Linked DNA regions of Homo sapiens: regions 1, 2, 3, 4, 5 and 7 are each linked to region 6. Evidence: promoter capture Hi-C in 16 types of primary human blood cells and fetal thymus (Javierre and others, 2016). All regions are on one chromosome and are shown on one strand. The core of a region is centred on a gene start or on the middle of the fragment in contact, and the rest is flanking DNA. Distances in the headings are between cores, read along the strand shown.

Region 1 (2,898 bases), core at 78-2,577, 1.7 Mb before region 6:
CAGAGTCAAAAGAAAGGCTTTGCTTCTGCCTTGGTGTTGCAGCATTTCCAGGCATGCAAAGCTGGGAGGATTTAGGAAGAGAGTGGCTGCAGTGCTATGGGTGTCTAACAGCACATGGGCTGTCTCTGGGCATAACCAGAGATGAGAGGCAGGGTGTGGTCACCCAGGACACCCCTACACTCTGTCCACCAGATGTTGCACTAGTCTGTGCCCCATCAGAAGGCAGACCTGGCTGGGCACGGTGGCTCACACCTGTAATCCCAGCACTTTGGGAGGCCAAGGTGGGCAGATTACCTGAGGTCAGGGGTTTGGGACCAGCCTGGCCAACATGGTGAAACTCCATCTCTATTAAAAATACAAAAAAAAAAATTTGCCAGGTATGGTTGCGCTCGCCTGTAATCTCAGCTACTCGGGAGGCGGAGACAGGAGAATTTCCTGAACCCAGGAGGCAGAGGTTGTAGTGAGCCAAGATTGTGCCACTGCCCTCCAGCCTGGGCAACAGAGCAAGACTCATCTCAAAAAAAAAAAAAAAAAAAAGGCAGACCTACTCTGTGTTCTAAACAGGGGAGGTTAATAGAAAGAATTACTAAACAGTGTTTGAAGAGCAACTGTAAGGCATAAGAAAACGCTGGTGTGGTGGCTTACTCATGTAATCCCAGCACTTTGGGAGACCGAGGCGGGTGGATCACCTGAGGTCAAGAGTTCAATACCAGCCTGGCCAACATGGTGAAACCCTGTTTCTACTAAAAATACACACACAAAATATTAGCCGGGCGTGGTGGCGTGCACTTATAATCCCAGCTACTTGGGAGGCTGAGGCAGGAGAATCACTTGAACCCGGGAGGCAGAGATTGCACTGAGCTGAGATCGCGCTATTGCACTCCAGCCTGGGTGACAAGAGCGCGAAACTCTGTCTCAAAAAAAGAAAAAGAAAAAGAAAATGCTAGTGGGTCTCCTAAGGCTGAGGGCAGGTACCCAGTGAGGGATAAACTTTGAAGGGAAGCCCCCTTCCCTGTTTGGGGTTCAGATCTGTGGGAGGAGCTGTGCTTGCAGCCCATGATGATGGTAGAATTTGCTGGTGTGCCCTGCCAGAGGTGGTCTGCAGTCATGGCCCAGGCAATAGCCACCGGTGGCCAGGTAGGGAGCACGCACTGCAGGTGGGGGTTGGGGCGACCCTTTAGGGTGTAGGTGGGCTCGGGCGAGTCACCTCTCTGGAGGTTGGTGTGGGCAGGAGGGCCGCTAGAGTCCTGTGTAGATTTGAGAAGGTGGTCACATGTCAAGTTCCGGCCTTGAGGTGGCCAAGTGACCTCACATCCTGGGCATGTGTTCTGTACAGAGCCCAACCTCCAGGTGGCCTCACACTTGCACTAACTCCAGAAACTGTGGGAGAGATAAGGCCTCCTATAGTGTCTCTTCAGAGCCCTCTAATGAGAAAGCTGCACACTGTGCTCTCAGTAATAAGGCCTCCTATAGTGTCTCTTCAGAGCCCTCTAATGAGAAAGCTGCACACTGTGCTCTCAGTACAGGAGAGACCTAAGGTAGCGGTATCCAAGGATGACTATGGGGCTCCTAGGCATTAAGGTCCAGAACAAATGCTGAGTACCCACACTCAGGTGTCAACTCACAGGTCACACGTGCTTGGGGGCTTCAGTGCATACAGCAGAGGCTCCTGGAGTGAAACATTACACATGTTCTGTGAGGGCGATGGGTCCCAGCATGGGCCTATGGAGGAGGCTGTGCACCTGTGCCTTCAGCGTCATCTTCTCCCTCTTCCCCACCCTGGAGGTTCTGATGAACAGCTACGGAGCTCCCAGAAGACCAGCTGCCTTGGATCCTGGTCTGTCTCTAGAGAACTCAGGCTTGTGCTAAATTCCAGGTGTGCCTGACCCTCTCTTTACCTTTTACCTTGAGACTCTTGGGCCACAGATGAATTTAGGTGCAGGTGCTAACTTCCTGGCCATGGCCACAGTCACCTTTTATTATACATGTTCCCATGCATCAGGGTTGAATTTATTCTGTTCCATGTCTCCTCTGGGTCTTGCTCACATTCAGTCCCAGAGATGGGTACTGCCAGGCACCTGCTGGGCACAGTCCCATGCTGGCACCCCAGATGGAAGCTCTGTCTCTACAGCCCCATCACTGGCTTGGTTTCAGATTCCTCGGACTATGTGGTTTGCCCCTGGTCAGCCCTGCTTTCTGCAGCTGGAAGCCTTTCTTTCCAAGGCCGTGTTTCTCATATAGAGGCTGCTCCTTTCAAGGCCCCTGAACTGCTACAGGGACAGAGTGAGGATGAGCAGCCTGATGCATCTCAGGTAAGCTGTGCAGCTACTCTGCAACTTCTGAGTCCTGTGCCCTGGGAAAGGCCTGTCCCAGCGGCAGCCTCCCCAGCTCCCAGCTCAGCCTTGCAGAGCTTGGTTCTCAACACCAAGCCAGAGTGGGTTTCAAGAGTTTTATTCCCAGGATTTCTTGTCAACAACTTACTAGCTCATGGACAAGGGCAAGTCCACTTCTCTGAGCCCCAATTTCTACATTGGTAAAATGGGGTTAATGTGGCTTAATTGATCAGGTTATTATCAATATTCAAAAAGAAGTGTTGAAAAGCTGTGGTTAAGTGGTCTGGCACATTGTTACCATTGGCAGTATGTAGCAAGACACCTCAAAATGACCCAACACGTCCTCAACTAGGAATTTATTCTAAGGCACAAGTAAAGATAAATTTAGCTGCAGCAATGCTGATTGTTGTATTGCTGACGTTAGTGATAAATTGAAAACAAGCTAAATAGTGAGTGGGAGAGGACATGAGACAAAACACCATTAAAATGAGGCTGTAGAAGCTTATTTAATGTATTGAAAAGAAATTCAATATATGTGCACATAATATTATCCAAGTTTGGTTAG
Region 2 (2,700 bases), core at 31-2,530, 1.7 Mb before region 6:
TAGCTGGTTTTCTACTGTGTGTGAACTACAATAATCACTGTTGATGGGCACTTCAGTGGCTTTCAGTTTTCTGCTACTACCAAAATACACTGCAAAGAGCATCCTTTCTCAGATGCTTTGGTGAACTTTTGCAAGAATGTCCATGGGGTTACTTCTTAGCAGCTGGGTTTACAAAGGATATGTACATTTACAAATTTGATGAATATTACCAAATTCCCTGCAGAGAAGTTGCACTTATCTGTAATCTCACTATTGGCATATGAGAGTACTCATTCTCCATGCCCTCACCAGCACTGAGTTTCATCAGATTTTTTTTTCGAGACAGAGTCTCGCTCTGTCACCCAGGCTGGAGTGCAGTGGCCCGATCTTGGCTCACTGCAAGCTCCGCCTCCCAGGTTCACGCCATTCTTCTGCCTCAGCCTCCGGAGTAGCTGGGACTACAGGCACCCGCCTCCAGGCCCAGCTAATTTTTTGTATTTTTAGTAGAGACGGGGTTTTGCCATGTTAGCCAGGATGGTCTCGATCTCCTGACCTCGTGATCTGCCCGCCTTGGCCTCCCAAAGTGCTGGGATTACAGGCATGAGCCACTGTGCCCGGCCTCAAATTTTAGTATTTTATTCTGTAGTCAGGCAAAAACTCATGTTTTCTTTTTAAATAAATACGTCTCAGTTTTGACACTGCTATTGATTTAAAGGGCTTGAGAGATCTGTTCTTTTGCCCCTTCTACTACAGAGCTATGATCTACTTCTTGCTGTTCCCCATCTCTGCTGGTTCCTTTCTGAATCCAAGCACCAGAAAGAGTAAGAATTCCTTTCCCCCTTTCTCTAACCACATTTTTCTTGCTTTCTCACAGACAGATCCAGGTTATCATTTCCTCCTGCTGCTTTCACATGGTTCCCTGTCCTGTTGGTTGCAGGTCCAATGTCTGACACTATGAAAGGGCATGGAGGACTCTTGAGTTGATGACACTAAGCCTCTGCTCTGGGGCTGCCCCCAGTTCCTTGCAGAGCTCTTTCTTTTGATTGGGCCAGGAGATAAAGAGACATCAGCGTAAAAGCCCTGCTGAGCAGCAATCCCATTGCCTTCAGTGGCACCTAATCCACTTGAGCTCTTCCTGGCTCTCTCACGGGTCACTGGCTTTGAGGACGCAGGCTGCTGGGGTGGCAGTGCCTGCTAACAGGCCAGAGACTGCGCAGGACCCAGGGAATGAGAGTGGTGGCAGGAAAGGGAAGGGGCCTTGTTGACTCACTCGCTGGGCAGCAAGTGCTTAGTGACAAGCAGTAAACAAAGACAGCGGCAACAGTGCTGGTGGCAGGGAGCTCCGCGGACAGACTTGCAAGAGACCCCTGCTCCTTGTTGGAAAGTTGTCCCATGATGAAGGCCTAGACCTGGTCACGGAGACTTTTGGATGCAGCCTTTAACGAAGGACGCAGGTATTCCTTGGCATCATTCAGTTTTCTCCTATAAATCTGGTCAGGGAAAGGGCAAACTTCTTACTGGGTCTAGGTATCCGGAATAAGAAGAACACAGCTGGGCAAGGACCTGTGTCAGTGCCCTTTGTGGTATTATTTGGAGTATTATTTGTTCCAGGCCATTGGCTAAGCCTGATAGACATTGTATTTGTTTTTTAGCAATAAAGAATGGGCTCAGAAGAGAAAACATGGACTTTAGAATCAGACCACCCCTTGTTTGAATCACTGCTTTGCTATTCAGCATCTGTGCAAATTCAAATGACTCTTTTAACTTTCCTAAGACTCGTTTTTCTTACCTGTAAAATGGGGATAATAATGCCCCATGCGTTACGATGTTGCTGAGGATTCATGGGGTGACACGCGTAAGGCACTTAGAACATACTTGGAGCATTTGAGTAGCCCAGTAAATCATGGCTGTCACTATCTTTCAGAAGCAAGTGTTTTGGTTATTGCTTAAAGAGTATCAGTGGTTTAAAGTAAGAAGACTCAGGGTATGCCTAGCTGACTTCCAGAAAACAATGGAAAAGAAATGATTCACCTGGCTTTATTTGTATGCTTAAAGGAAAGAAAAAACTCAGTTGAGGTTTTCAACAGTGTAAACAACTTTTTTTTTTTTTTAAAGCAACAATTGAGTTCAGAGATGAGTCGTGTCTATTTCTCCTGGCTAAATCCTGTGATTTGCTATAGGCTGTAGCTGAAACCAATTAAGTAGTTCATTAATTCAACGAGAACTTACTTGGTATCTCCTGGGGCCACATGCCAAATGCTGGGGATGTCTCCCCCAGCCCAGAGGATCTTCCAGGTTGTAGGACAGTGGGGGTCGGGGGGCAGAATGCTGGACCTGCATGAAAACTGGCGGTGATAGCAAGTGCCGAAATGGAGGTGGCACGGGCTCCTGGGAGAGGTGTTGCTTGAGCATGGCTTTAATGCTAAGCGAACACTAGCAGGAGTTGGGAGCAGGGGGATTGGAAAAGGCATCCCAAGCAGAGAAAAGCACATGCAAAGGCCCAGTGGCATGAATAAGTAAAGCATGCTCTGGGAACAGCAGGCAGTTTGGCCTAACTTTAGTAAAGTGGGAACAGGGGAATCTGATAAGAAAGGAGGCTGCAGAGGTGAACAGGGGAGAGCAAGGAAGGCCTTCTATGGCCCAGAGTTCACTCAGAAGGTCCCAGATAGGCACTGGTAGTTTTAATGAAGGATGTGTCGTGTCTGCATTTAATATTAAGAA
Region 3 (2,732 bases), core at 75-2,574, 1.7 Mb before region 6:
TCAGCATTTATTCCTCTAAGACGATGGTTTTCAAATTGTGGTTCCCCAGACCAGCATCAGCTGAGAACTTGTCGAAAATGCAAATTCTCATACTCACCTTAGACCGGCTGAGTGAGAAACCTTGAGGAAGAAGCCCAGCAATCTGTGTTTTAATGAGCCCCCCCAAGGCATTTCTGATGCCCATTTGAGTTTGAGAATCCCAGCAGCAGGACACTGACTCACAAGTCACCCTGCTCATTTTAATCACCTGGGTGGGGAGGGGCTTTAAAACTGCCCACACCCGGCTGAACGTGGTGGCTCACAGCTGTAATCCTAGCACTTCGGGAGGCCGAGGCAGGTGGATCACAAGGTCAGGAGTTCAAGACCAGCCTGACAAACATGGTGAAGCCCCATCGCTATTAAAAATACAAAAATTAGCTGGTCGTGGTGGCGCAAGCCTGTAATCTCAGCTACTCAAGAGGCTGAGGCAGGAGAATCACTTGAACCTGGGAGGTGGAGGTTGCAGTGAGCCAAGATCACACCACTGCACTCCAGCCTGGGTGACAGAGCAAGACTCCGTCTCAAGGAAAACAAAACAAAACAAAACACTACCCACACCCAGGCTCCATGTCTGGTGCTCCTTCTCCAGTGGTCTGGGGTGGAGCCCAGGCTTCTGTAGCTATTTTCACATCCCCTCAGGTAATTTTAATTTGTAGCCAAAAATGAAAGCCAGTGCCCTAAGAAATTTGGCGTATTTTCTGTTTTTTTAAAACCTCAGAGCAACTGGACAGAACATCTTGCTCTCCATTAGCTTTTGTGCTTTCATTCTTTATTCTTACTTTCATTATTGGTTCTTTTTTTCCAATGTTTTGCCCACCTCCCACATCTTACACATATGCTAAATTGTCCTCTCTCCATCCACACCCACTGCCTTAGCTTGGGCTGCCATCACAAAATATCATAAACTAGGTGGCTTAAGTGACAGAAATTTATTTTCTCAAAATTCTAAAGGCTGGAAGTCTGAGATAGGAGTTTGCCAGTATGGGCAGGTTCTGGTGAAGTCACCTTTCTCAGCTTGCAGACAGTCACCTTCTTGCTGTGTCCTCACATGGCACAGTGAGAGGGAGAGGGAGGGAGAGAGAGAGAGAGAGAGAGAGAGAGAGAGAGAGAGAGAGAGAGAGAGAGCGAGCTCTCTGGTGTCTCTTCTTATGAGGATGGTAATTCCACCATGTGGGCCCCACCCTCCTGACCTTGTCCAACCCTAATCACCTCCCAAAGGCCCCACCTCCTAATGCCATTACAATGGGAGCTGGGGCTTCAACATATGAAATTAGAGGAGACAGAGACACAATTCAGTCCATAGTACCCAGAAACTGAAGATATTCAGTGTTCATCCCCTGGTGAAAAAAATATAAAGGAAATTGAATAGGAGAGAAAGAATATATTATTGAAGTCATACAACCTGTAAATAAAATATTTGTTGTTTTAAATAAATAAATGTTTTAGAAGAGAGCTTTTTACCAGATCTCTTAGCATCAACACCCTACCCCATCTACAATTATTAGCTAAGAATTTCTTTGAGCCCAGTGAAATTTTGCCTTTCATAGCTCCTGCACTGTAGAACTTGTGCCAAGGTCCCATTGTGGAGAGAAAACAACACTTCATTACCGGCCCCCTCCACCCCATCTCCACCTTTACCTCCTGGCCTTCACCCTCACCCTTCAGATGTAAAACTGGAGCTCATGCTAGACTGGCAGGCATTCCACCAATGACCCTTTGGCAGAGAGACCCCTGTGAATTCCCAACCTTGGCCAACAGTCCTACTCATTCTTGGCTAGATTTGAAAAGACTCTTTGTGGCATCATTGGGGAATGAGAAAGAGATTCTGGCATCACTGGAGAGTTAAGAGTCTCTGCAGGTGGCAGGGTTTTGAGCCCCTCAGAGGGCAAGTGATGTTTCCCTGCCGCAGCCTTGCCAGCGACCTCTGCTGGGGCATTCTCATGTTCCTGACTCAGAGGTGATCCCTGAGGCCCTCTGATGCTCCTGAGAAGGTGCTGTTGCTTCTGGAAAGTGGAGATTAGAAGACAATTTGAAGGAATTTTCAATGGCTTCTTAAACCTGTTCCTGAAGCAGATTCCCAGTCAATGACAGCTTCACTTCTGAGGGTAGGTTGCATTGCTTCTCTTGCCAAAAACCTACAGGATTCACTCTCAGCTGAGGGTTGGCATAGCTGGTCAGCCTGGCCAGCTTGAGGCTTGTCGTGGTCTGGGAAGCTAGCAGAGGTGAGTAGGGTTTTTGGGCTTGGGAAAAGGCAGAGGGAGGTATCATAGCCCTTCAAGGTGTGGGTCTCTTAAAGGAGGGACAGCTACACAGGAAAGTAAGTGAAGCCGGGCATGGTGGCTTACACCTGTAATCCCAGAACTTTGGGAGGCCAAGGTGGGAAAATCATTTGAGCCCAGGAGTTTGAGACCAGCCTGGGCAACAAAGCACAAAGTGAGGCTCCAACTCTACAAAAAAAAAAAAAAAAATTAGCCAGGCCTGGTGGTGAACACTGTAGTCCCAGCTACTCATGAGGCTGAGGTGAGAGGATTGCTTGAGCCCAGGAGGTTGAAATTGCAGGGAGCCGTGATCATGCCACTGCACTCCAGCCTGGGTGGCAGAGCAAGACCTGTCTTAAATGAATAAATAAATAAGCATTCCTCCCCAAATGCTCCAGCCATGCTTGAGGAATAAGCAATCCAGGGTAGATAGGG
Region 4 (2,717 bases), core at 167-2,666, 1.6 Mb before region 6:
TTTCAGAGGCTGAGGAGGATCACTTAACTCCAGGAGTTCGAGAGCAGCCTGGGCAACAGAGCGATACCCCTGTCTCTAAAAAATACAAAAATTAGCTGGGTATGGTGGTGCCTCACTGTGGTCCCAACTACTTGGGAGGCTGAGGTGCGAGGATTGCTTGAACCCAGCACTTCAAGGTATCAGTGAACTATGATTGTGTCACTGCACTCCAGCCTGGGTGACAGAGCGAAACCCTGTCTCAAAAAAAGAGTGACTTATTCATATAAAAAATGCTTAATATCTGAATAAACTTAATATAAAATTGTCAGGATTGCATGAAAGCCTATCAGTGTGTACTGACAAAGTGTATGGATTTCAAGCAAATATTCGACTTTGAAAAAGTGTGGATGAAATGATCAGTTGAGTACTAAAGAAGAATTATTACGACTGGCGGAGCAGCATCTATGAATGCTTGAGACAACACATTATTTAAAGAAATATTAGTTATAGTACAGTTCAATTGGATTCAGAATCCATTCCTATTAGCACAAGGAGGCTTAGCACTATACTTGTCAGTAAAAGTAAAGAGTATACAGAGAATGAGAAACTTATCTAAAATTAGGTTAATGGTAAAAAGGGGTTTCTCAAAGAAAAAGCAATGAATATTTATCTGCCTTTTGTTGATATCTGACATGCGTGAATGGAGTTTCTTAGAAATGGTGACTATCAGGAATTAAAAGAGATAAGCCTTAAAGAGGATCAGGGGTTTCCGGAAGCCCTTTCAAGCATAAGCCCTGTTTCTATAAAGTTACCTTTATAGGAGCAAGCTGAAGGTTCTTATTGAAATAGATAGAATATCTAGAATGAAGATTTTATTTGGAAGTTTTATATGAATTAATATTTAATATCACCTATATATTTTATTGTTCTTATCAGAATAATATATTGCAAAAATTTGTACTTTTTTTTCATAAGGCTCTATACAGGTAGCCTCATATAGGTCATCTTCACCAGTTTAGCCCAGTGAGCTGGACAAATATTATCACTTTGTATGTGGGCCTTGAAGGTATAATGTGGGGAAGCGTTTCTTTGTGGTGTGACCTCAATTCCTGTGGCATTTTGAGGACTCTTGCTCTTTTTTTTTTTATCTGTAGAATAAAAATACTGATAGAATCTCTCTTATTCTGTAGTTGTGAAGATAAAATAAATTCATACTCATAAAGCACTTAGAATAGAACCTGCTACATTATAGCCAGAAATATTATAACACACAGGTGTTTTTATCTTTTTCATAACCCAACTAGTTGAGATTTTGTCTACAACTTCTTGGAGTTTGTACAATAAAAACAATGGGAATACTTAGTGGCTTGTCATAATGCACACTGAGGGTTAGGTTCCGTCCTTGCTGAGGTCAATATACCTGACCCACTTCATATTCTTCTCACCCAGCACACTCCTTGAAAAATAGTTATTGTTTGATAAACAATTTGATTGATGAATGAAGGAAAAACTAAAAAGAGGGATTTTCTTTAAGCTAAGGAAAATATCAGGCCATAGTCAGACAGCATCTGCCATGCACCCGTGGATGCCTGCTACAGGGTGTGGAACCAAGGGACCGAGCATTTTCTTGCAGTTGTGCGTCAGTGGAGGGTTGTGGATGATCAGTGTATTAAAGTCTGTGTTTGCTTCCTTCAGCAAAAAAAGTTCACCATCACAAGCAGTGTCACTGGGAAGAAGCACACATTTGTCACAGATTCAGCCAAGACCAGTAAATACTTACTGGACCTCTGCTCAGCCCAGCATGGGTTTAATGCACAGATGGGCTCTGGGCAGCCTTCCCATGTTTTATTTGGTGAGTAGAAGCTGTATTCTCCATATACACTTTGACAAGTTTGTTATTTCATAAAATAATTTGTATAAATAGATACAATTGATCTGGGGACCTCTAATAGAGTTGTAAATCTCTCTAATAATGACAGAAATACAATAAAAATGAAATACAGTTTTATTTTCTCATGTTGGCAAGCACTAAAATAAATAACACTGGGAGGATAAATTGATATGATCTTTTCAGAGTGCAATTGGAAATATACATCAAAAGCCTTAAAAAGTGCACGTCCTCTTGGCCCCATAATTTTACTTGTAGATAGACATTTATCCTAAGATAATCAATAGAGACATACACAAAAGTTGCTGCCCATGGATGTCTACTAGGGTGTCATTTATGACAGTGACCATTTGAAAGCAATCTAAGTATCCAAACATAGAAGACCAGATAAATAAACCAAGAGCATCTATATAATTCAGACAGTAAAATCAGTTTTTGGACAATGATGATATGTGAAACTGTACATGATAGGGTGCTAAGTGAGGAAAAGGAAGTTCTAAGACTGTATCTAGCTAGCACCGTCCAATGACACTTTCTTCAATGATGGAAATACCTGCATTGTTCAGTGTGGGAGTCACTAGCAACACAGACCTATCATGAACAAAAGTTCTTGGAAAAGGAATTCGAAGGAAAAAGACTTTATTCCTGTCACAGTCTGCAAACCCAGAAGGCACAACCTTGGTATAAAACAAAGGTGTGTTCTGGAGAACAAAGAGAGGGTTTGGCTTTTATAGATAAAACTCCCACCTAGGTTCCCAATCAAGTTCATTTATTCAAATGAAAGATTCAAACTTGCTTAGTTCAGATTGGTTGATGCGGTGCAGTTCTGACTAGTTGATACAGCTGAGCC
Region 5 (2,700 bases), core at 116-2,615, 1.7 Mb before region 6:
TTGAGTTGTTGTTCAGCTTCAGTTTATAGGGCTTTAGGAACAGAGAAGTTCTTGTTCTTTGTTCTTCAGATACTGAAGGAAGCAAGAAGAATTCAGGGTCCAATTCAGTCTACAGGTAGATTAGAAACACACAAAAGCAATGAACAGGGCTACAGTCAGATAACAGGTGTAATACAATTTTCACCTTCCTTTAGAAGCATAATTTCTTTTCTACAGTTACCCCCATTTTTACTAAAGATAATCACAATAAGACAAATTTGTTTACTAAGTAAGTTTAGCCTCATCAAGTTTGGCCTTGATGCATAAGTGCATCAAGAATAGTGGTTGACCACGTAGGCTCCTTTGAAGCTTGTTCTGCTAGAACTTTTGATAAGAATCTCAGCCTGACTTTTAAAAGTCTCTCAAGGCTAGGAGGCCAAATCAAGACAAACCTCAGTTTGGCTGAAGTAACTTTATGTGCATTTTCAAATATGACATCCAAGTCAAAGCCTTAGTAATATAACCAATTTTAAGTATTGTATCCTGTTATAAAGAGAGCATATTTTATTGAACTTATATAAATAACTATATTATCATAAAAATAAGAATGCTTATGGATAGTTTTAGAATTCTGGTTGGATCAGGAAAGGAGAAAAAGCAAATATTTTAATTTTGTTCACAAGAGTATACTTTATTATATTGTTGTAAACTATAGATAACATACAAGGAAAAAGTTTCCTTAAATCTAGAAAACAAAACATTTAAAGAACCAGTGAAATTTCAAGTAAAAATTATAAAAACCCATTATTCTTTTTCATCCGTTCGTTCAGCCTCATGTAATTAATTCTTGTTCTGCTTGATCTTTGTTAGCAGTTTCACAAACTCTGTTTCTTCTTTAGTGTCCTGGACATTTTTCCTTAGTCCAATGGTTTGATCTTGAAGTTATCAGAAACCTGTAACTTGTCAGAATTCTTTCCATCCTTTCTGTGAACCTCCTTGAAGAAAAAGCAATTTTTGGACTGTAGCTGATTGCAAATGCGTTTAGAAAAGTACCAACACCATAACATTCCATGGATGATAAGGACTTAGAATGGCCATGGTTAAAAATCTGAAGAGAGTTTATTATAACCAGCAATTTACAGATAAATTTCATTGTTTCTATGGCATATATCATTTTAACATAATAACCAAATATTATACTAAGACATATCGGAATTCTAGCAATTTTGTACAATTTTAGGAACATTTATATCAAAACTATATTTATAAATATAACTTAAAGATTTGGCACCACTTATTATTGGATAATGTTTCCCATGCATTTTAACATATTGAATAAACCCAATTAGTTTAACACCTCTTTTACAAGGTGAGGGACATATCCTTTGTTGCTTCCAAGGGCCCAGCTGGAAAGACCCAAAGTAAATTCAAGGTCAAAAAGACTCAATTTAGAATTTGATTTTGGGAAGCTGTCAAAACTGTCAAAAGGTTTAAAACCCTTGATCAAAGTAGAATCACTGGTCACTGTAAAATAATTGTCATTCATTTAACCAGAGTGATAATTAAAATTCTTCAAAAGGCAAATACATAATGGTCAAAACTTAGCTCTTTGAATATTGAGAAGATCACTTTTTTAAGTAATAAAAGAGCTAATAAAATACAGCACAGAGCACAAGAAACTATTCTGATAAAACACAAAATTTTTGTTTTCTAGGCCAATTACTAAAAAGTTAAGGAAAAACATATTAATATTAACAGTAGAGGCTAATACTGCAATATAACTGTATTTTATTAACAGAGAAGACAAAATAATAGTTTTGCACAAGTATGCTATTGATATTAAGGCTCAATTTTAGAAAAACATAAATAAATACTTTTCTTCTAATTTTAATTATCTTGATCACACAAAAATTTCTTTCATAATATTCATCTTCCATAAACCTTTTGCAATTTTCTCAAACCATTTATAATGTTCTTATTCAGTTTTATTGATATCACTTTTTTCTTTATTTATTTGTTTTGAAGCAATCCTCAACTAGCCTCCAACTAGAGAAAATTACTTTTTTAAACGACAACAAATAAAAACACATTCTCATATCTTCCTTTTAACTTTTCTCACCCAAACATATCTTACATTTTTGTACACTTTGTGTACAGAATTACATTTAGTAATTGGAATTTTAAAACTCTTGGTAACTTTAATTTCTAGTGAAAACCAGAAAACTAGAAAGTAAGCAATCATAAACTGCCTTTTACAAATTTGTGAAAACATTATTTTATAACACCTAGAAATATATGCTTCCTCATAGCACATTTTTTCAGTGTAGAATAGAGCATTTTAATTAACAGACCCAAATATCTTTTGTTCCTCTACAATGAGGAGACAAAAGTATATAAGCTTAAACTTATGTTCAACAACTAATATTTCAGCATAATATCTTATTTGGAAGTGGTCTATTAAATGAATATTCATCATTTCATTTAACTTACTATAACTGTAATGTTTTAAGTAACCAAAAAGATTTTATAAACCATTTTAAGTAGATATATCTTATAAAACATAATCATTGTTGAAAAGCTTACTTATACTCTATTTCATTTATATTTACATTTATTAATTCACTTGGTTTTAACAATTATGTTTGAATTGTTTATAAAAACTCCATAAGACATGAAACAAATGTAGTCATTATCTTACGTTATTTTTATTGTTAGTAAATC
Region 6 (2,907 bases), core at 129-2,628:
GGTTTCTGGGGTTTCTTTGTGATAGCTCCCAGCACCGAAGCAGCATAGAAGAGGCACCCCCATAAACAGAACTTTCCTTTTCGACCCCACCCTGAGGGAAATTCCAGGGGCGCACTTGGCCCCACATCCTGCCTCACCTGCTCAGTTGGGTCCTAGCATGCGGCTGGCAGGGCCTGTCCCGCTGCCCACTGGAGGCAGCTGTGGTGGCCATGGCTGGTGTCCCAGGCAGCTCCTCATAGGTGAGGGTGGCACAGAACCTTCTCCACAGACAGCAGCTTGCCCCGATCAACAGCAGCAGCAGCAGCCCCCCGATGGTGCCCCCAATCACCAGGGCCAGCTGCTCTGGGGGCAGAGACCACCAGTACTATGATGCCTGCCTGGGAAAGCCACTCTCCCTCACAGCCCTGGCCTGCTGGGGCAGAACTAGGGCAGCAACCCTGCCTCTGGGTTTGATCTCAGGAGTGATAGGAGCAGGCCTGCTGGGGATGGGTTCCGGGAGGGATGCTGCTGGCTAGGTTCCGCCAGCTCTCAGAGGAGAAGCCGTTTACCCCAGGGTCTGAGAGCCCTGGGCAGAACCTTCTAGTTTTCCTTGGAAAACAGCTGGCCCTGCCCTTGGGATTCTGGCTTAAAGAAGCCATTTCCTTGCGCTTCTGAGTAGAAATCAAACCTGCCCTCACCAGAACCTCCATATCCCCTGGGCTCCTGTTGAGGCCAGGAGGGGAGCTGGGGTGTGGACGCAGTCAGTTAAGGAAAGCCCTGAAAGGTACCTTCCCCCTGGTCTGCAATCAAACCTCTACCCTCTGGGGCCCTGGAACCTGCTGCAAGGCTGGACTCTTCTCTAACACCCGCTCCCTCCCCTAGCCCTCTATCAAGGTGAGCACGCGCTTAGGGGAGTTGGTGCGACGCGGTGGACGAGGTGGGGAGGAAAAGGGGGCAAGACCCCGTTGCTGCTGGCCCTCACACGTCCGCATTTGCGGGACCTAGGAGGCTTCGCCCCGGGGGTGCTCAGACGCTGGGTTCCAACCGCTGGCCACCTGGGGCGGGCCAAAAAGGTGCCTCCCTTAGGGTGACGTGCGGCCGCGGGGCATTCAGGTCTCAGGGATCTGCACTGGGTGGGGTGGTGAGAAGGCCGGACCCCCCACACCTCCTAAGCCGCAACTGACCGCGAAGAGCGGGCCTCAGCGTCTACTCCATCCCAGTGCCCCTCCAAGAGCGCGCCGAGGCCGGGCAGGGCAGGCGCTGCACCCCAGCGGGGGCGGCGGGGCGGAGGCAAGTGCTGGAAGGGTCGCAGAGGGGCCGGGGCTGGGCTGGGGAGGCGAGGCTCGCTTACCCGCCATGGGGCTGCTCCCGCAGGCTGGTCTCGCCGGTCTGGGCGGCTGGGGCTGGGCTGCCAGGCCGTCTCTTAAAGCGCCGCGGGGCGCCGTCGGGCGAGCACAGGGGCGGTCCGTGGTGCTGCTGGTGCCCAGCTGCGGCGCGGGGAGCCGCGCAGTGCACGGCAGGGGCAGGGACCCAGCGCCCCGAGGCCGCAGTCCCGCCCCAGCCCGTCCCTGGCCCAGGCCCAGGCCCGGCGGTGGAGGGGCGCAGAGCCGACCGTGAGCTCCCGGAAACCGCAGGGCTCCAGCCAGGGCGGGTCCCGGGCGCCAGGGGCGCCAGGGGCTCCCTGCGGCTTGGGGCAGGGTGGGGTGAGAGTACCACCCCCATCCCGGAGAGCAGGGCTACAGCCTTCACCGCCGCGTCTGACACAGGGCTCCGCACCCGACCCCTCACACCTGGTGGCCAGGACTGAGCCCCCGCCCTCCCAGATCCTCCTCAAGCCGAGGCCCCTCCAGCCGCAGCTCCGACCCCGGCTCGGGGGAGCCTTCCCGGATCCCGGGGTGGAGTCTCCGCGCGGGTCCCCGGCCCCAGCGCTGCCTGCCTGATGGCCTTGGGCAGGGATGCGGCGCTCGCGCACCCGTTCGCTCTCAGCGGACAAACCGGTCGAGAGCGCAATTCTGGAGCGGGTTCCAGAAGCTCCTGGGTTCCAATTCAGGCTCCTCACTCGCCAGCCCTGCGATTTGGGACAACTTAACGTTCGTAAGCTGGGTTCAGTCTTCTCAATTGGGTTAATGTCCGTGAGGGGCTCTCGTAAGGGCGGCTGGCCTGCCGGTAACTTAAGAAGCATGTAAAGAGCACTTAGAGCGGAGGAGCGGCGCGGCCCAGCCCCTGTTACGGTGGTTATCGGATGGAGGCCAGCGTCGCCTGGGTCCCCTCTGTACACCCAGCGCCTATTATTATGGTGATTATTAGAACGCAGGGCCCGTGCCCACTAGTCCAGGCTGGCGAACGCGCCTTGCGGGAAAGGCGGGAGTAAGGTCGCTGCGTGTCCTCTCTGGTCACACCTCGGCGCGCCCTGGTCGCGCCCCTATGGTTCCCCCGCCGAGGCCTCGAGGCGTCTGAGTGGGGAGCGAAAGGAATGTGTGTATCTGTGGTGCAGGGGAGTGTGTGTGTGTGGGGGGGGGGAGGGGGTGGTTGTGGGGGAGTGCGTGTTTTGGGGGGATGGACCTTCTCGTTTTACAGCCTTGAAGGTTATGTCCAGAGTCATAGCCTGGGTCCCACACCCCCGCGTCACCTGTGCCTGTCCTAGGGGGCAGTCAGTGTGCGTGAGGCTCCACCCTGCCTGGGCTTTGGCTCACCTAAGGCGAGGAGGGTGGTGAACTGGGGTGCCCCACTGGGCCGGGTCTGGGAGCCCTCAGCGCCAGGGTGCAGAGGCCGCAGCCACTCCCCTTCTAGGGTCTGGGCGGTGGGGGCATGAGAAGGCGGAGACCCAGGCCACTTCACCCAGTAACTGTCCTCAGCTGTGCGCTTAACTGGCGAGATCTCCGCTCTACTTGGAGACAGTCTGGGGTGTCTGGAGAATCCTCCCCCACT
Region 7 (2,821 bases), core at 35-2,534, 1.6 Mb before region 6:
ACTTGATTAAAAATCATTTCTTTCCTATGTCTCATTATCTACTGGAGCAAAATCCAGTGCATATTGGTGGTTTGTATTCCTAGCTTTAGCTGTGCTTACTAATGGGGAACAATCCACCTTTCTCCAAGTATCATGGTAAAGTAGAAAAGATCCTCTATTTGAGGATCAGAAGACCTGACTGTAACTATCAGCTAATGCCACTTGGTAGCTGTGTGATATGAGGGAAATAACCTAACCTCTCTGAACAGCAAAATCACTAAGTATCATCTTATCATGGACTATCATCTTGGATTACAGGGTTTGTCATTAATGAGGGAGAGTATTCAGGCCAAGCTGACCCTGGCATTTTTATATCTTCTATTATACCTGGAGGACCAGCAGAAAAAGCAAAAACGATCAAACCAGGTACATCTTTTTAAATTACTAGAGATGCTGTTTTAAGAAACCACTCTTTTTTATTTCCTTGAAGGATTATTGAGATGTTTTATTTTTCTAGGAGGGCAGATACTAGCCCTGAATCACATCAGTCTGGAGGGCTTCACATTCAACATGGCTGTTAGGATGATCCAGAATTCCCCTGACAACATAGAATTAATTATTTCTCAGTCAAAAGGTATGTTTTAACCCACTCTTGGGAGCTTAAGAGGCTCCCCTGTTTTCAGGAGTACATGATTACTGTGAGGTACTAGACCTTGAAGTCCACGTAGGTCTTCTATATTGCTTTCCTCATGGTGTTGGCTTGCAAAGAAGCAGTGTAGTGGCACAAATTAATAAGCTTTGCAATTTCAGGGGCAGAATGGGCGTTACCATGCTTGTCTTGCTGAAAGGGAGTAACCTACTCTAATTTTGTTAGACACGGCTGGATACAACCAGTCTTTTTTTTTCTGTCAACTCTCCTTGCATGGCAGGGAGGACCTTTTTATTGCCACCCAAAGTCCTTGTTGATAGGGTCGGCTCCAGGATTTCTATATTTTGTATAGAATCCTATACAAAATTTCTATATTTTGTATAGGTATAGCAATCAGCTGGGGAGGAGACAAGCACTGTTCTTTGTTAATCTTTTGTTTTGGGTTTAGGGCTACATGTGTAGGTTTGTTATTACAGGCAAACTCGTGTCACAGGGGTTGCTATACAGACCATTTCATCACCTAGGTGCTCAGCATAGTGCCCAATAGTTATTTTTCCTGATCCTCTCTCTCCTCCCATCCTCCTCCCTCAAGTAGGCTCTGGTGTGTGTTGTTCCCCTCTTTGTGATCATGGGTTCTCATTATTTAGCTCCCACTTGTAAATGAGAACATGCGGTATTTGATTTTCCTTTTTTTTTTTTGAGATGGAGTCTCACTCTTTCACCCAGGATGGAGTGCAATGGCACGATCTTGGCTTTCTGCAGGCTCCACCTCCTGGGTTCAAGCAATTCTCCTGCCTCAGCCTCCTGAGTAGCTGGGATTACAGGCACGCGCTGCCACACCCGGCTAATTTTTGTATTTTTTAGTAGAGACGGGGTTTCAATATGTTGGCCAGGCTGGTCTGGAACTCCTGAACTCAAGTGATCTGCCCGCCTCAGCCTCCCAAAGTGCTGGGATTACAGGCATGAGCCACTGCACCTGGCCTTTTCTTAAAGCTGAATTTTCGTGGCAAGCTCGCTCTTCTTACTTGATGTGCATGTTCCTGATCAACCTAAAGAGTAAAGTACTTTTTGATGATGCTTTTCTTCATCCTTTAGATAAGAATGAGAGAGCAACAACTGCCTATATTAAAGGAAAATACTATTGTTTTTATCGGGACCAAGCTTGAGGAGCCTGGAGGAAGTAATGGGAGTAGGCTAACATCCCTTCTCCCTAGTTTCCTGAGACCAATGCTGCTTTTTGGTTGGGTGATCCTGTAAACTAACAGCAGACCGCCTGCAAATTCAGGCTCATGATTGCTTCTTCACACTTGAGGGGTGTTGTACAGTTTTCCCTTGTATACAGGAGAACTTCCTGTCACACCAGCCAGCATTTTCTAGGTACTAAATGCAGGCACTGCATTTGCCTTGCCTTCTGAACACTTCTGCATGCATGCTCTCTCACTCTTGTACCTGTACACAGTGCCATGCAGCTCCCCTGTCCAGAAGCTATGGGTGGTGGAAGGTGGCCATGCTGGGGTCTCAGCCCCACACCCTTCATCCTGGGGTTGAAGCCTTCTCAGGGACTGGCCTCAGTACATCTCCAATGCCAGTCTCTGGCTTGCTGTCTGTTGGATTTCCCAGCACCACTGCTCTCCTTTCTGCAGTGGTTCAGCAATCCCTGTGTTTTCTTCCACATCCTCCACTGACAGGAGCAGTCAAACCATCCCATGTGTTGTCAGGAAACACAATGCAGGTGACCAAATCACAATTCAGCATAGTCCAAGGATGGCCTGCTGTGATGGAGGTTGTCAAAAAGCAGTACTCGAGGTCTGCTATTCTCAAACCACAACCTCACATTAGAATTCCAGACAATGAGTTTCCCACAATGGCTGGGAATAAAATGTCCTTTCACTGTGGCACCCCAGCCACCTTTTGGCAATGCTGCCTTCATCATGGTGGGGTTTCCTCATAGCTGGGCCACTGCCAGAGGAAGATGTTTCCTTGGTGATGCTGGCTGGGTCTCCGTGGCAGAGACTTGACTACCATGACTTTCTTCTATCTCTTTAGGCTGCTGTTAAGGCAGCTGGGCTAGATTGGAGATCAGGATCAGACAGATAAAATGTCCATCATGAGCATCTGTCATGGTCTACAATAAATTGAGTTTCCTTTACCAAAAAAGGTCTCCCAGCTCATATGTCTACTAGGCAGGACACC

The links. Contacts are between HindIII fragments. The CHiCAGO score rates a contact against its expected background, and 5 or more counts as called.
Region 1: a fragment that was not itself captured here is called in contact with the fragment with the promoter of SYT15 in region 6 in 6 of 17 cell types (erythroblasts, M0 macrophages, fetal thymus and 3 more); the score reaches 8.3 in erythroblasts.
Region 2: the fragment with the promoter of FRMPD2 here is called in contact with the fragment with the promoter of SYT15 in region 6 in 4 of 17 cell types (non-activated CD4 T cells, M0 macrophages, monocytes and 1 more); the score reaches 7.5 in non-activated CD4 T cells.
Region 3: a fragment that was not itself captured here is called in contact with the fragment with the promoter of SYT15 in region 6 in 5 of 17 cell types (M1 macrophages, M0 macrophages, erythroblasts and 2 more); the score reaches 16.4 in M1 macrophages.
Region 4: a fragment that was not itself captured here is called in contact with the fragment with the promoter of SYT15 in region 6 in 5 of 17 cell types (M1 macrophages, M0 macrophages, erythroblasts and 2 more); the score reaches 20.8 in M1 macrophages.
Region 5: a contact is called between a fragment that was not itself captured here and the fragment with the promoter of SYT15 in region 6, in 4 of 17 cell types (erythroblasts, M1 macrophages, M0 macrophages and 1 more). The highest score is 14.3, in erythroblasts.
Region 7: a contact is called between a fragment that was not itself captured here and the fragment with the promoter of SYT15 in region 6, in 6 of 17 cell types (M1 macrophages, erythroblasts, non-activated CD4 T cells and 3 more). The highest score is 12.3, in M1 macrophages.

The regions. Positions count from the first base shown.
Region 1 is chr10:48,248,435-48,251,332 of GRCh38, reverse strand. It overlaps FRMPD2 (FERM and PDZ domain containing 2), which reads left to right. Exons shown (of 29, transcript NM_001018071.4): 3 at 2,155-2,312. Among named protein-coding and RNA genes, the nearest start is that of FRMPD2, 25 kb to the left of the region's middle. The HindIII fragment of the contact is 3,018 bases long and covers 1-2,836 here.
Region 2 is chr10:48,273,276-48,275,975 of GRCh38, reverse strand. It overlaps FRMPD2 (FERM and PDZ domain containing 2), which reads left to right and starts at 1,280. Exons shown (of 29, transcript NM_001018071.4): 1 at 1,280-1,433. The coding sequence starts at 1,409. The HindIII fragment of the contact is 27,288 bases long and covers 1-2,700 here.
Region 3 is chr10:48,299,981-48,302,712 of GRCh38, reverse strand. No RefSeq gene overlaps it. Among named protein-coding and RNA genes, the nearest start is that of MAPK8, 5.3 kb to the left of the region's middle. The HindIII fragment of the contact is 7,001 bases long and covers 1-2,732 here.
Region 4 is chr10:48,200,342-48,203,058 of GRCh38, reverse strand. FRMPD2 (FERM and PDZ domain containing 2) reads left to right here. Exons shown (of 29, transcript NM_001018071.4): 15 at 1,675-1,831. Among named protein-coding and RNA genes, the nearest start is that of FRMPD2, 73 kb to the left of the region's middle. The HindIII fragment of the contact is 8,259 bases long and covers 1-2,717 here.
Region 5 is chr10:48,228,146-48,230,845 of GRCh38, reverse strand. All of the region lies in intron 10 of FRMPD2 (FERM and PDZ domain containing 2), which reads left to right. Among named protein-coding and RNA genes, the nearest start is that of FRMPD2, 45 kb to the left of the region's middle. The HindIII fragment of the contact is 2,029 bases long and covers 351-2,379 here.
Region 6 is chr10:46,577,599-46,580,505 of GRCh38, reverse strand. SYT15 (synaptotagmin 15) reads right to left here and starts at 1,378. Exons shown (of 8, transcript NM_031912.5): 1 at 1,331-1,378; 2 at 138-342. The coding sequence starts at 1,337. RefSeq lists enhancers at 1-635, 636-1,513. The HindIII fragment of the contact is 10,756 bases long and covers 1-2,907 here.
Region 7 is chr10:48,182,358-48,185,178 of GRCh38, reverse strand. FRMPD2 (FERM and PDZ domain containing 2) reads left to right here. Exons shown (of 29, transcript NM_001018071.4): 19 at 298-405; 20 at 497-613. Among named protein-coding and RNA genes, the nearest start is that of FRMPD2, 91 kb to the left of the region's middle. The HindIII fragment of the contact is 1,014 bases long and covers 778-1,791 here.